Regions from separate parts of the Homo sapiens genome. Here region 1 is linked to region 2. Evidence: promoter capture Hi-C in human tissues and cell types (Jung and others, 2019). All regions are on one chromosome and are shown on one strand. Each heading gives the region's core, a stretch centred on a gene start or on the middle of the fragment in contact. The rest is flanking DNA. Distances are from core to core; before and after follow the strand shown.

What was found. The method cuts DNA at HindIII sites, captures the fragments that hold promoters and counts their contacts. A contact is called where the count stands out against the background at its distance.
Region 1: a fragment that was not itself captured here is called in contact with the fragment with the promoter of C20orf173 in region 2 in 1 of the 25 tissues and cell types used here (spleen).

Annotation. Positions count from the first base shown.
Region 1 is chr20:35,904,826-35,911,403 of GRCh38, reverse strand. The region is part of intron 10 of PHF20 (PHD finger protein 20); the gene reads right to left. Among named protein-coding and RNA genes, the nearest start is that of SCAND1, 46 kb to the left of the region's middle. RefSeq lists an enhancer at 4,281-4,781. The HindIII fragment of the contact is 7,158 bases long and covers 1-5,123 here.
Region 2 is chr20:35,526,285-35,533,690 of GRCh38, reverse strand. It overlaps C20orf173 (chromosome 20 open reading frame 173), which reads left to right and starts at 4,039. Exons shown (of 6, transcript NM_001145350.2): 1 at 4,039-4,132; 2 at 4,267-4,626; 3 at 4,812-4,990; 4 at 5,147-5,240; 5 at 5,407-5,458; 6 at 6,441-6,712. The coding sequence starts at 4,318. The coding sequence ends at 5,433. The HindIII fragment of the contact is 31,043 bases long and covers 1-7,406 here.

The sequences.
Region 1 (6,578 bases), core at 295-2,794, 380 kb before region 2:
CAAATAATTCATGATGTATCCACACAATGGAAGACTTTTCAGCAATAAAGGTAGGAACAGCAGGCCGGGCGCAGTGGCTCATGCCGGTAATCCCAGCACTTTGGGAGGCCAAGGCGGGCGGATCACGAGGTCAGGAGATTGAGACCATCCTGGCTAACATGGTAAAACCCTGTCTCTACTAAAAATACAGAAAAAATTAGCCGGGCGTGGTAGCGGGCGCCTGTAGTCCCAGCTACTGGGGAGGCTGAGGCAGGAGAATGGCGTGAACCCAGGAGGCGGAGCTTGCAGTGAGCTGAGGTCTGGCCACTGCACTCCAGCCTGGGCGACAGTGCAAGACTCCGTCTCAAAAAATAAAAATAGAAAAAAAGGTACGAACAGCAACATAAGTGAATCTCAAAGTATGCTGGGTGAAAGGAGCCAGACAAAACAAGTGCGCACTGCAGGATTCCATTTCTACAATAGTCTGCAAAATGAAAACAAACCATCTGGGCATGCTGGCTCACTCCCAGCACTTTGGGAGGCCAAGGTAGGCAGATCAGCTGGGGTCAGGAGTTCAAGACCAGCATGACCAATACGATAAAACCCCATCTGTACTAAAAATACAAAAATTAGCTGGGTGTGGTGGCTCATGCCTGTAATCCCAGCTACTTGGGAGGCTGAGGCAGGAGAATCGCTTGAGCCCAGGAGGCAGAGGTTGTAGTGAGTTGAGATCGTGCCACTTCACTCCAGCCTGGGCAACACAGCGACTCCATCTCGGGGGGGAAGAAAAAAGAGAGAAAACACACCACAAGTAACAGTAAGCAGAATAGTGGTTGCCTGGAGCTCAGGGGGAGGGGAGAGGTGGGAAGGAGGAACTAAAAAGGGGCATGAGGAAAGTTTGGGAGGGAATGGAATATGTTTACTATCTTGATTGTGGTGATAGTTGGGTATAAACATATGTCAAATCTCACCAATTATACCATTTAAATATGTGTAGTTCATTGTACAATTAAGTCTCGATACAGCTGTAAAGAAAAACAACCAATTCAGTTGCATTTAGTACATTCACAATGTTGTACGACCACTTTGATATAGTTCTAAGAACATTTCCATCACTCCAAAGTAAAACCCTTTACCATTAAGCAGCATTTCCCCTCCCCTAAGCCCTTCCCCTCAGCCCCACCAACCTGCATCTGACTCCATGGGCTTATCTACTCTGGATATCTCATAAATATGGAACCATACAATATGTGACCTTTTGTGTCTGGTTTCTTTCATTTAGCATGATGTTTTCAAGGATATCAGGATTTTTAAAACTTTCCAAGTGATTCTGATATGGAATCAAGATATCCACAAAGCAGGTGTGAGGCAGGGTAGACAATCAGATTCCATTTTAACTAAGCACTTGTGTGCAAGGAAACCACAAATATCTCATTTAATCCTTACAACAACTTGTGTGTATATCATTCCCATTTTACAGGCCGGGAAACTGAAGCTCAGAGAGGTGAAATCACCCACCTGACATCACATAGGTATTTAAAAGCAAATTGGTCTGACTCTCCAGCACCATGTCTCCTCTGCAACCCAGGCCCCTCTCCCAAATTAGCACTTGGTAACCATCAGAAAGGAAGAGTGGGCTGTGCCTACTGGCTGGCAAGCCTGGAATCTATAGGCAGAGTTGATCTACTGGCTAGAGAACATAGGACTTAAGGGTATTTGAGCTCCTTAACTTTTAAAATACCCTGCAACTAGAAAGAAAGTCAACAAACATGAAAGCTGGAGAGAACTTAGACCAATTTGTAAAAGCACTCATTTTTAAAACCAAAAACCCAAGGCCCAAAGACAGCAGACTGGCAAAACATGGTCAGATGCCTTCTGAATTTCAAAAAAGCTATCAGTCATTTTTACTTTTCATTGATCCTGAGAACAGGGTCTTCCCCAAACATAAAAACAAAACTCATTTTTACACAGTTTGACTACCACCGTATTATTAGCCATGGTTTCAATTCATTTAGGCAACAGATACCATGCATATACTATGTTCCAGGCACATTCTAGGGAGGAGGGATATTGCAATGAACAAAGACAGATAACACCCCCTGTCCCTCACAGAGCTACATTCTATTCAGTTGGTGCAAAAGAATTGCTGTTTTTGCCACTGAAAGTCACAGCAAAAACCACAATTACTTTTGCACCAACCTAAAAAGCTGATGGGGCAGCAAACTATGAATAGGAGGGAATTTCCTCAACTGGATAAAGAACTTCTTTGCAGCCAACTTCATACTTAATGGTAAGAAATTGGATGCTTTCCCCTTAAGATCAGGAACAAAGCAAGGTGCCTCTCTCTCTACTCCTATTCAACATTTTACTGGAAATCTTAGCGAGTGGAATAAGCCAGAAAAGGAAATAAAAGCTCTACAGATTGAAATGGAAGAAATAACACTATCTTTGTTTGCAGATGATCTGTCTATGTAGAATATCCCAAAGAATTGATCAAAACAAAGACTGCCAGAACAGCACTTACAGCAAGGTTACAAGACACAAAGTTAATATACAACAATCTATTGCTTTTCTATATGCCAGCAATGAATAACTGGAATTTGAAATAAAGAAATAGCAAGGAGATCTGTATGGCTCCAATGGAACTGAAATTAGAATTAGGTTGAGTAAGGGAAAGAAGCAGATGGAGGCTAGCAGCAGAACATGATGAAGGGCCCTGTGAGGAAGTTGGCTTTTACTATGAGTGATTTAGGGAGCCACTGGAAGGATCTCAGCAAAGGAGGGATATTATCTGTTGTACCTTCACCCACACTCCTCCACAACACACACACAGACTGCTCCCTGATCCAGTTTTTATTTGTAAATTCAGGTTTTAGTGACCTCCAACTAAAGTAATTATACCCATCAGCTTAGTGAAATGCTAACAGAATTTATCTTGTCAGCAGCAGAACTGCCTGAAGCAGCAACATAATCTAGGTCCTAAATCCTTGAGACAGAGAGGGCAAGATGTAGAGGAAAACTGCCCAATGCTAGGGCATACCTGGTTATCTGGCTAAAGATAGTGGTCATTTGTAAACTCCAGTGGCAGAACTTGCAGGCCCTAGAAAAGACACAGAGAATTGCCCAGCAAGGACTGAGCTAAGGCAGGTGAGTCCCTGAGGAACAGGAGTAGACAAGGTGACAACAGGCAGAAATCCCCAGACTGCCAGGTGCACAGGAAGTCTCCTGCAGGGAGGCACTCCTATCTCCCACTCCAGGGCCTGGGACAGGCACTCTTCCCTGGAATCATAAAAGACAGCAGAGCCTCAAAGTGAGAGTATGGGCTTCACAACAGATTCAAATCATGGCTCCACCACCTGCTAGAGCTGTAAATATTGGTTCAAATTAATCCATCTCATCTGCACCTTAGTTTCTAATCTATAAATTAGGCATTATAGATGCCTAATATGCCAACATTAGAGCATCCAAATTCTTAAAACAAGTACTTCCAGACCTAAAGAAAGACTTAGTCACATAATTTTAGTGGGGGACTTCAACACCCCTCTGACACAGCATTAGAAAGATCATCGAGGCAAAAAACAAAGAAATACTGGACTTAAATCCAGCAATGACAAACTATACATTCCACCCATCTGCAAATGGCAAATAATCTAAAATTGACCACATGCTTGGCCATAAACCAAGTATCAGTGAATTCAAATCATTGAAATCATATCAACCACACTCTGAGACCACAGTGGAATAACTGCATAAATTAGGCATAACAGCACCCACCTCAGAGGGTTTGTTCTGATAACTAAATAAGACAATACAAGTAACGAACTTGGAACAGCGCCCAGCACATGAAGTACTCAAATGTCAGCTGTTATTATCTTGCTTGCAATATTCTTTCCCTGGAAAGCAGTGCTGGTCGCTGGTCTGCTGTCAACTCTCTCTCTGGACAGCTTTACCAATTGTTCCATGACCCACAGAGCATGTACTGGCTGTGGAGCTTCCTCCCGGCTGCCCTGACTAGGTTGGACAAAGAGTGACTTCCTGCCAGGCTCTGGATCAGAGAGCAGCTTGTCACCTAAGCAGGGTGAGGCTTTCCTCCAGGATGGCCACTTGTCCTCTCCCCAAGCTGCAGGTGTCCATCAGGAGAAATACCAGAGGCCCTCTTGCTCCTCCATACAGCTGACTCTTGAGTATTCCATCCAGTCACTGATTTATGAGAGCAGAGGGACAACTGTCATCAGACCGCCGCTTCCAGGAGGGAAAAGAATAGCATCACCACCACCTATGGGGTAACTGCTTGTACACCACAGAGCTCAGCCACGAGGCTGGGACAAGCACTGACCAGAGCATGTTCTGATCTGCACAAGGGGGTGGTAGCTCAAGGGCAGACAGAAGCAGATATGGGCTTGGAGGGGTTCTCTCTGCCTATCAGAGAAGTGGTAGTCAGGGTCTGCCACTGTCATTTCACCATGTCTACCTTCCCAATCTCATCTCCTATCAGTCCCCTACCATGAGTCCCACCCAGATACCAACCCAGGATGGCCCTCCAATAACCCCTCCCTCCTCAAGCCCTGCATTCTTCTTAGCTCATGTGGTAAAGGCTGCAGTGCCCTTCCCAACACTATTTCTCCACTTCTTCCATAGGAAGAGTTCATGTTCCATGTTCCCTTGAGAGAGGGGTGGCAGATGTTCTGCCTATCGGATACAAGAAGTGATGTGTGGCACTTCTGGGTTGTGCCTTAAAAGAAAGGAGCATACTTTCCCTTCACTTCCCTTCCCAGCAGCTGAAAGATAAGCAAGGCAGGGAGCCATTTTGGACACCAAAGAAGAGCAGCACCTGGGGCAACAACGGGGAGAAAGCAAGGCCCAGGAACCTTCAGAGCCTGGTGGAACAACGGGGAGAAAGCAAGGCCCAGGGACCTTCAGATCCTGGTGGAAAAACGGGGAGAAAGCAAGGCCCAGGGACCTTTAGAGCCTGGTGGAACAATGGGGAGAAAGCAAGGCCCGGGGACCTTCAGAGCCTGAGCACAGCCACCATGGGTAACTTGCAGTTCATCCTGAGAGGGAAATAAACTTCTCTGATTTTAGCCAGCTATGTTGTTCTCTCTGTTATGGCACTATAATCCATATTCTAATTAAGCTCACACTGCTCTTTTTGTTTTAAGGGGAGGAGGACATGTTCCTGCGATAAGGCCAGTGTAGTCCCATGAGAAAAGGTGTGGATGGCAATGAAGAGGTGCCCACTCCAGTGCCCCAAGGCTCACTTTGGCCTAAAACTGAGGTTTACCCAGGGTGAGAGCACGACTCAAACAGATGTAGCAATAAGTAATAATAAGCACAGGAGAGGCCCTCTTTGACACTAGAAAATTCTTTCTGAGCCTAACCTGTATTCAGGACTGAACTCACCTAAGTAGAAAGAAACCCAAGGGAGCCTGAGCTGGCTACTGGAAGAGAATTTATTAAGTGACTCTGGTATACTGAGAAACCTCATTTGGAAAAGCAAATCTAAACTGACCTTCTAAATTCATTTTGCAACTAAAGGCTTGGCTGAGAGCAGAAGAACCATATGAGTGACAGGATTACAGAAGGCTGGCATCAGAAGGGGCACCTTAGGGACAGATGATTGGTTTATTCCCCTTGATGCCTCTGAACCCTTGCTATGCCTATTCCTGGCACAGGGATGCTTTTCCTCTTCCCGGCTTCTGGTCCAATTCCTATCTAGCCTCACTCCTTAAGGCGTGGGTTAGTCTGCTCAGGCTGTTATAACAAAACATTATGTTATATGTGGCTTAAACAACAGATATTTCTTTCTCACAGTTCTGGAGGTTGGAAACTACAAGATCAAGGTGCCAGACTATTTGGTTCCCAGTGAGGCCCCTCTTCCCAGTTTGCAGATGGCCATCTTCTTGCTACATCCTCACATGGGGGGATAGGGGGAGCTCTGATCTCTTCCTATAATGCCACTAATCCCATCATGAAGGCCCCAACCTCATGACATCATTTAAACTTAATTATTGCCAAATACCATCACACTGAGGGTTAGGACTTCAACAGATGAATTTTAGGGAGGAAGGCAGGACACAATTCAATTCACAGCAAGGCCTAACTCAAATGTCACCTTCTCCTCTCAACAGTCCAGCTCCTACCCTACAGGCAAAATCTGAATCTGTGTTCCCACAGCACTTTACATGTTCCTAACACAGAACTTAGCTTTCTCACGTTGTTTATGAGCTTTTCTCCCCACATGAAAGGGCCTGGTCTCATGCATACCTAGCTCTACATCATCACTTTAGAAATGAGGAGATCAGCCAGGCACGGTGGCTCATCTCTGTAATCCCAGCACTTTGGGAGGCCAAGGCAGGCAGATCATCTGAGGTCGGGAGTTTGAGACCAGCCTGACCAACACGGAGAAGCCCAGTCTCTACTAAAAATACAAAATTAGCCAGGCATGGTGGTGCACGCCTGTAATCCCAGCTACTCGGGAGGCTGAGGCAGGAGAATCATTTGAATCCGGGAGGCGGAGGTTGTGGTGAGCCAAGATCGCACTATTGCACTCCAGCCTGGGCAACAAGAGTGAAACTTCATCTCAAACAAACAAAAAAAAA
Region 2 (7,406 bases), core at 2,790-5,289:
AGGCACACACCGCCACGCCTGGCTAATTTTTGTATTTTAGTAGAGACAGGGTTTCACCATATTGCCCAAGCTGGTCTTGAACTCCTGAGCTCAGGCAATCCGCCTGCCTCAGCCTCCCAAAGTGCTAGGATTACAGGCATAAGCCACCACACCCGGCCAAAATATTTTTAAAATGGTTAAAATGGTAAATTTTATGAGTTTACAAAAATTTTAAAAATTATACCAGTTGGCCAGGCACAGTGGCTCATACCTGTAATCCCAGCACTTTGGGAGGCCAAGGCAGGCAGATGACAAGGTCAAGAGATTGAGATCATCCTGGTCAACATGGTGAAACCCTGTCTCTACTAAAAATACAAAAATTAGCTGCGCGTGCTGGCTCGGACCTGTAGTCCCAGCTACTCGGGAGGCTGAGGCAGGAGCATCTCTTGAACCCGGGAAGCAGAGGTTGCAGTGAGCTGAGATCATGCCACTGCACTCTAGCCTGGCAAAAGAGCAAGGCTCCATCTCAAAAAAGAAAAAAAAATTGTAGCAGTTGATGTAAATGAAATAGCAATAAAACTTGCTATACATCTTTTCCTAAATGATTTTTTTTCTTTGAGACAAGGTCTCACTCTGTCACTCAGGCTGGAGTGCAGTGGTGCAATCACATATCACCGAAGCCTTGACTTCCTGGGCTCAAGTATTCCCTACCTCAGTCTCCTCCTGAGTAGCTGGGACCACAATGGCCAATTTTTATATTTTTTATAGAGATAGGGTCTCCCTACGTTGCCCAGGCTGGTAGATAATTTTTAAAACCTTTTCATTTTGAAAAAACCATAGGCACACAAGAAATTGTAAAAATAGTACAGAAAATTCCCATGTACCCATCATCCATTTTCCCATTTTATTCTTTATTTTTGCTTTATTTTTTTTTTTTAGAGACAGAGTCTTGCTCTGTCACGCAGGCTGGAGTGCAGTGCTGCTATCATAACTCACTGCAGCCTTTAACTCCTGGACTCAAGTGATCCTCCCACCTGAACCTCCCAAGTAGCTAGGAATAAAGGCGCACACCACCAAGCCCAGCTAATTTTGTGTGTGTGTGTGTGTGTGTGTGTGTGTGTGTGTGTGTGTGTGTGTAGAGTCTTGCTGTGTTGCCCAGGCTGGTCTCAAACTCCTGGCTTCAAGCTTCAAACCCCACCTTGGCCTCCCAAAGTGCTGGGATTACAGGCACGAGCCACTGTGCCTGGCCTTCATTTTCTCTTAATGGTAGTGTCTTACCATATAATACATATAGTAATTTTTCTTTTTCTTTTTTTGAGACAGAGTTTCACTCTTTTTGCCCAGCTAAAATCACATTCAGTGGTGCGATCTCGGCTCACCGCAACCTCCGCCTCCCGGGTTCAAGCAATTTTCCTGCCTCAGCCTCCCGAGTAGCTGGAATTACAGGCATGCGCCACCATGCTTGGCTAATTTTGTATTTTTAATAGAGACAGGGTTTCTCCATGTTGGTCAGGCTGGTCTCGAACTCCTGACCTCAGGTGATCTGCCCACCTTGCCTCCCAAAATGCTGGGATTACAGGCGTGGGCCACCGCGCCCAGCCCATATGGTACTTTTTCAAAACCTGGAACTTGACGTTGGTATGATATAATTAACTAGCCTACACACCTTACTCAGATATTTGGGTGAATTGATTTAAAAGCTATACAATATCCAGTGCAGCTTTCCACTAGTTAAGATGAAGAATTTTACTGTTCTTATCCCATTGAATAAAATGTTTTGATTTTTTTTAAAAACCAAAATGTTCTGTTTTTTTCTTAAACTTTAAAAACAACTCAAACATTTTCATTTTTTTACTATCTTTACAAGACTACAATTGAATTAAGGGGGTGGCAGTGGAGATGAAGAAGATGACTTAGAAATAGAAACGAATTAAAAAATGGATTTGAGGCCAGACTCAGTGGCTTATGCCTGTAATCTCAGCACTTTGAAAGGCCGAGGAGGGTGGATCACTTGAGCTGAGTTCGAGACAGGGCTGGCACAGTAAACCCCATCTCTACTTAAAAAAAAAAATCAGCAAGGCTCGGTGGCTCACGCCTGTAATTCCAGCACTTTGGGAGGCCGAGGTGGGCGGATTGCTTGAGACCAGGAGATGGAGACCAGCCTAGCCAACACAGTGAAACCCCGTTTCTACCAAAAAAATACAAAAATGAGCCAGGTGTGGTGTTGTGCGCCTGTAGTCCCAGCTACCTGGGAGGCTAAGGCATGAGAATCACTTGAACCTGGGAGGTAGAGGTTGCAGTGAGCCAAGATTGTGCCACTGCACTCCAGCCTGGGCGACAGAGTGAGACTCTGTTTCAAAAATAAATTAAATAAATAAATAAGCCTAGCGTGGTGGCACACTTCTGTAGTCCCAGCATCTTGGCAAGCTGAGGTGAAAGGATTGCTTGAACCTTGGAGGCAGAGGCTACAGTGGGCTAAGATTGTGCCACTGCACTCCTGCCTGGGTGACAGAGTGAGACTTTGTCCTAAAAAAAAAAAAAAAAAAAGAATTTGGGTATCATAGGAGTAGGAGGAATTAATAACACATGAGTTCTGGTTTCAATAACTGGGTACGTGGTGGAACCATTTGTTGAGATAGAGAAGTTTTGAAGCTGGGTGCAGTGGCTCACGCCTGTAATCCCAGTACTTTGGGAGGCCGAGGTGGGCAGATTACCTGAGGTCAGGAGTTTGAGATCAGCCTGGCCAACATGGTGGAATCCCGTTTGTACCAAAAATACAAAAAATTAGCCGGGCTTGGTGGCACGCACCTGTAATCCCAGCTATTCGGGAGGCAGAGGCAGGAGAATTGCTTGAACCCCGGAGGAGGCAGAAGTTGCAGTGAGCTGAGATTGCGCCACTGCACTCCAGCCTGGGTGACAGAGCAAGACTCTGTCTCAAACAAAACAAAAGAGACAGAGAAGTTTTGGGAAGGGTTGGTTTACAGGGAAAATCCTGGGTTCAGTCTCAGGCTTATTCAGGTGAGATGTCTCTGAGCCATCTAAGTGGCAATTCAGTAGGCTGTTGGATATGGGGTCTAGAGACTACAAGAGAGGATTGAGTTGATGTCACACAACTCCAGAGAGGGCATCACACACAAGTATATTTAAAGTTCCAGGCTGGGGCGGGGTGCAGTGGCTCATGCCTGTAATCCCAACACTTTGGGAGGCCAAGGCGGGCGGATCACCTGAGGTCAGAAGTTCGAGATCAGTCTGACCAACATGGGGAAACCCCGTCTCTACTAAAAATACAAAAAAATTAGCCAGGCGTGGTGGCGGGCACCTGTAATCCCAGCTACTTGGGAAACCGAGGCAAGAGAATCACTTAAACCCGGGAGGTAGAGGGTGCAGTGAGCCGAGATCGTGCCTCTGCACTCCAGCTGGGGCGACAAGAGTGAAACTCCGTCTCAAAATAATAATAATAATAATAATAATAATAATAATAATAATAATAATTTAAAAATAAAGTTCCCGGCTGGGCATGGTGGTTCACGCCTGTAATTCCAGCACTTTGGGAGGCTGAGGTGGGCGGATCACTTGAGGTCAGGAGTTTGAGACCAGCCTGGCCAATATGGCGAAACCCTGTCTCCACTAAAAATATAAAAATTAGCCAGGCGTGGTGGCGCATGCCTGTAGTCCCAGCTACTTGGGAGGCTGAGGCATGAGAATCGCTTGAACCAGGCAGGCGGAAGTTGCAGTGAGCCAAGATCATGCCACTGCACTCCAGCCTGGACAACAGAGCAAAAACTCCATCTCAAAAAAAAAAAAAAAAGTTCCCTCTCAACCCCTGTTTATTTATCCCATAAATATTTATTAAATGATTCTAAGTCTTAGAGCTGCAGAGGTGAAGAAGAGAGACTAGGTCAGCCCCTGTCCTCATGAATCTTACATCCAGTGGAGGTCATTTCGGTGTCAGAGAAAGGGTAGGGTGGTGGCTTTTTTCAGGCAGGCTAAAGGAGGGAGGTCACAATGTGTACTTTGTGATGAGATCTATGATATAACTGGGATGACAGCAAGGCCCCCACTGAGGTATTCCTTCCCCTCTCAGGACTAGCCACATGCTGTCTCTCTGCCCTGGCCTCTTCCACCCCATGCCCAGTCAGAGACCGTTTTGAGGGTGAGCAAATGGATAGTGAGGCAGGAGAGGAGGGGTTGGAAGGAGGTGGAAGGTGGTGGGATGGGGAGTTGTGGAGGCCGACAGGACAGAGGGAAGCTGGTGCTGTCTGTGGCCTCAGCCCCTCATCCTTACAGGTAGAGAAGCCAGTCTACGGCCCACCACGGGAGCCACCGCCTGGGCCAGACATGAAGCGCTGGCAGATTTTTGTCCTGTGGGTCTTTTGGGTGCTCATCCTCTGGCTGATGACCCCCTATCTGGATCTGACACCTGAATCAGCACCCCAGGAAAAACGAATGTACTTGGTACCACAGCATTGCGACTGCCCTTGGTTCAGTTCCGGGAAGTGTGGCTGCCCTTCTGAGACCCTCAACTGCTCCTCCTGCCACCACACAGCCGACGAATGGAACTGGCTTGATGCGTGCTCCAGGAAGACTATGGGGTACCTGATGAGGACAAGAGAGTCTATGACCTCTGACACTGTGCTCTGGTGGTTGGTCAGTGGTCAACACTGGGCCCGGCCATATCCCCCATGCTTTCCGGGCCTCACCCATCTCCCACTTTCCGCCCAAATCCCTGCCCTTGGCCCTGTCTTCACAGCCTCTGGATGGAGATCTCACCCACCCAGCTCTGTTTTCTCTCCCCTGGGCCCAGCCCCCAATCTCCCTCTTGCTGTTTCCAGGGCATGAACTCAGGGAGCGAGCTTGGGAAATTGTGGAGGAAGCTGTTTAAAGGGATTCCCAGGCTCTCGGTGAGCCATTTTGATTTCTATTGTGGGACTTGTGTGCTGTTGGGGCGCCCACAGATCCCGCAGGGCTCCAGCCTTGGCAACGACATCGACCAATACCCCGTGGTTTTCAGGTGGGTGCTGGGGAGAGGGCGGGAGCAGGAAGGCCAGGCCTGCCCCACAGTTCCATCAGTTTCTGCTCCCCTTCCCAAGATGAAGCAGGCCCCAAGTCCAGGGCTTTGAGATGGACGTGGGGAACCAAACCACACACAATGCTTCATCTATCCCAGGAATGCCAGCGACCAGGGCTCCTGGATGCAGCTGGAGATGCTACTGCGGAAGCTCTCTGACCTGGTGTGGACTTCAGATGCTCTAAGTGATAAGGTGATGGAGGTGTCCCCAGACATTCTCTGTGTGGGGGTGAGGGGAGGTCACTGCAGGGAGTAACAGCAGGGGCTCTGGGAAGACCTTCTATTGGCTTACTGGGGACACTTGCAGGACTTTCCCAGGTCTTGTGGCCCAAACTCCCCCACCTCCAATTCTTTCTCAGATTTTGGAAGATGGTCTGGTTCCCTAGTGGAGTGGAAGATAGCAAAGACACGGTGAGGGGGAATAGGAAAAGGGGTAGGATGTGGCTGTGGGTTGCTGTGGGAAGGGCCCCAGGTCAGTTCCCTCCCCCTTCCTCCCCAGGTGCAACCAGGACAACTGGCTGTCTTACCAGGGTCAGGGTCATCCCTGGGGCCCAAGGCTTTGTTCTGTGTCTTGCACAACTGTGCCCCGGCAGGAAAGATTCTTGTATCTTCTTCTCTTAAAATTCCTGCTCCTCAATGCCTTCAGCATGGAGTCTAAAGTTTTCTGCCTGGCTTTCAAGACTCTACATGTAGGCCAAGCGTGGTGGCTCATGCCTGTATCCCAACACTTTGGGAGGCTGAGGCGGGTGGATCATGAGGTCAGGAGTTCGAGACCAGCCTGGCCAATATGGTCAAACTCCATCTCTACTAAAAATACAAAAAATAGCCAGGCATGGTGGTAGCCTCATCTCTACTAAAAATGCAAAAAATAGCCAGGCATGCCTGTAGTCCCAGCTACTCGGGAGGCTGAGGTAGAAGAATCGCTTGAACCCGGGAGGCAGAGGTTGCAGTTAGCCGAGATTGCGCCACTGCACTCCAGCCTGGTGACAGAGCGAGACTCCATCTCAGAAAAAAAAAAGACTATACATGTTCTGACTCCTCCCCTTGCCTCCTGTCTCCCAGGCTCCCATAATGGGCTCTTAGAATTCCCCAGACACATGAGCTGCCTCATGCCTTCTCTCGCACCATTCCGTTTGCCTGGAATGCCCTTCTCTTACGTCCTGGGGGTTCCCCTCTCTTCCTCCAATACCATGAGGAAAAGTGAGTTGACATTCTCTTTTTTGGGATCCTCAGTGACTCTAGGAGAGTGTCCAGAGTCTGTTTCCTGGAGGTGAGCTCCAGTCTCCTCCCAGCTCCCAGGGACAACCTGTCATCCTAGATGCTGAGTGAAGGGAGGCAGGGGTGAGGACAGGAGTCTGCCTGCTGACGCACATGTCCCTCTCTTATCCACTAGGTCACCCTCTTTGGATTTGGATCAGAATAGCAAGGAAAGTGTTTCTATCACTGGAAGGAGGATAATCAGACCAAGGGCTCCAAGGAAATACTGCCCACGTCTAGTGCAGGAGCAGAAATCGAAGTCATCCATCAGCTAGCGTGTGGACAAGCTCACTATTCACACAAGCTCAGCCTAGCTGAGTCCATACAAATCCTATTTCTGGGTGGGTAAAGGGCAGGAGGAAATTGTAAGATCAGTCTGGTACTGAATAAAATCCTGGCCTGATTGTCTTACCTGTAACCACAGTGTCTGGGAGGGATGGGCCAGAGGTGCCTTCCAGATCTCAGGGGCAATATTTGAGTTGATTTCTTTGCCTAGTGCCCTGGATCATGTAGGAGGTATAAGTTTAGATTCAATTTCATGCCAAGTGCAAACCCAGACTTTGAGTTGTTGGGGGAGGCTCTTTACCCACTTCGATAAAAGAAGTAAACCTCCTTGTTTCACCCATGCCGGAGGGTGAGGGTTGTTTTTTGTTTTTTGTTTTTTTGCCCAGCTTTTCACAGAAGGTTTAGCATTTTGAGGTTCCCAGTTTTTTTAGGTGCCTCAGTTCCAATTCGCTTTTTTTTTTTTTTTTTTTTTTGAGACAAGAGTTTGCTGTGTTGCCCAGGCTGGAATGGAGTGGCACAATCATGGCTTATTGCAGCCTCGACCTCCTGGGCTCAAGTGATCCTCCCACCTAAGCCCCCTGAGTAGCTGGGACTATAAATGCATGTCACCACACCCAGTTAATTTTAATTTTTGTTTTTGTAGAAAGGGGGTCTTGCCATGTTGGCCAGGATGGCCTTGAACTCCTAGGCTCAAGCAATCCTACTGCCTTGGCCTCCCAAAGTGCTGGGATTACAGGTGTGAGTCACTGTGCCTAGCACTTACCGTGTCACTTCTGCAGCATTCCATTGGTCAGATCAAGTCATAAAGTGATCCAAG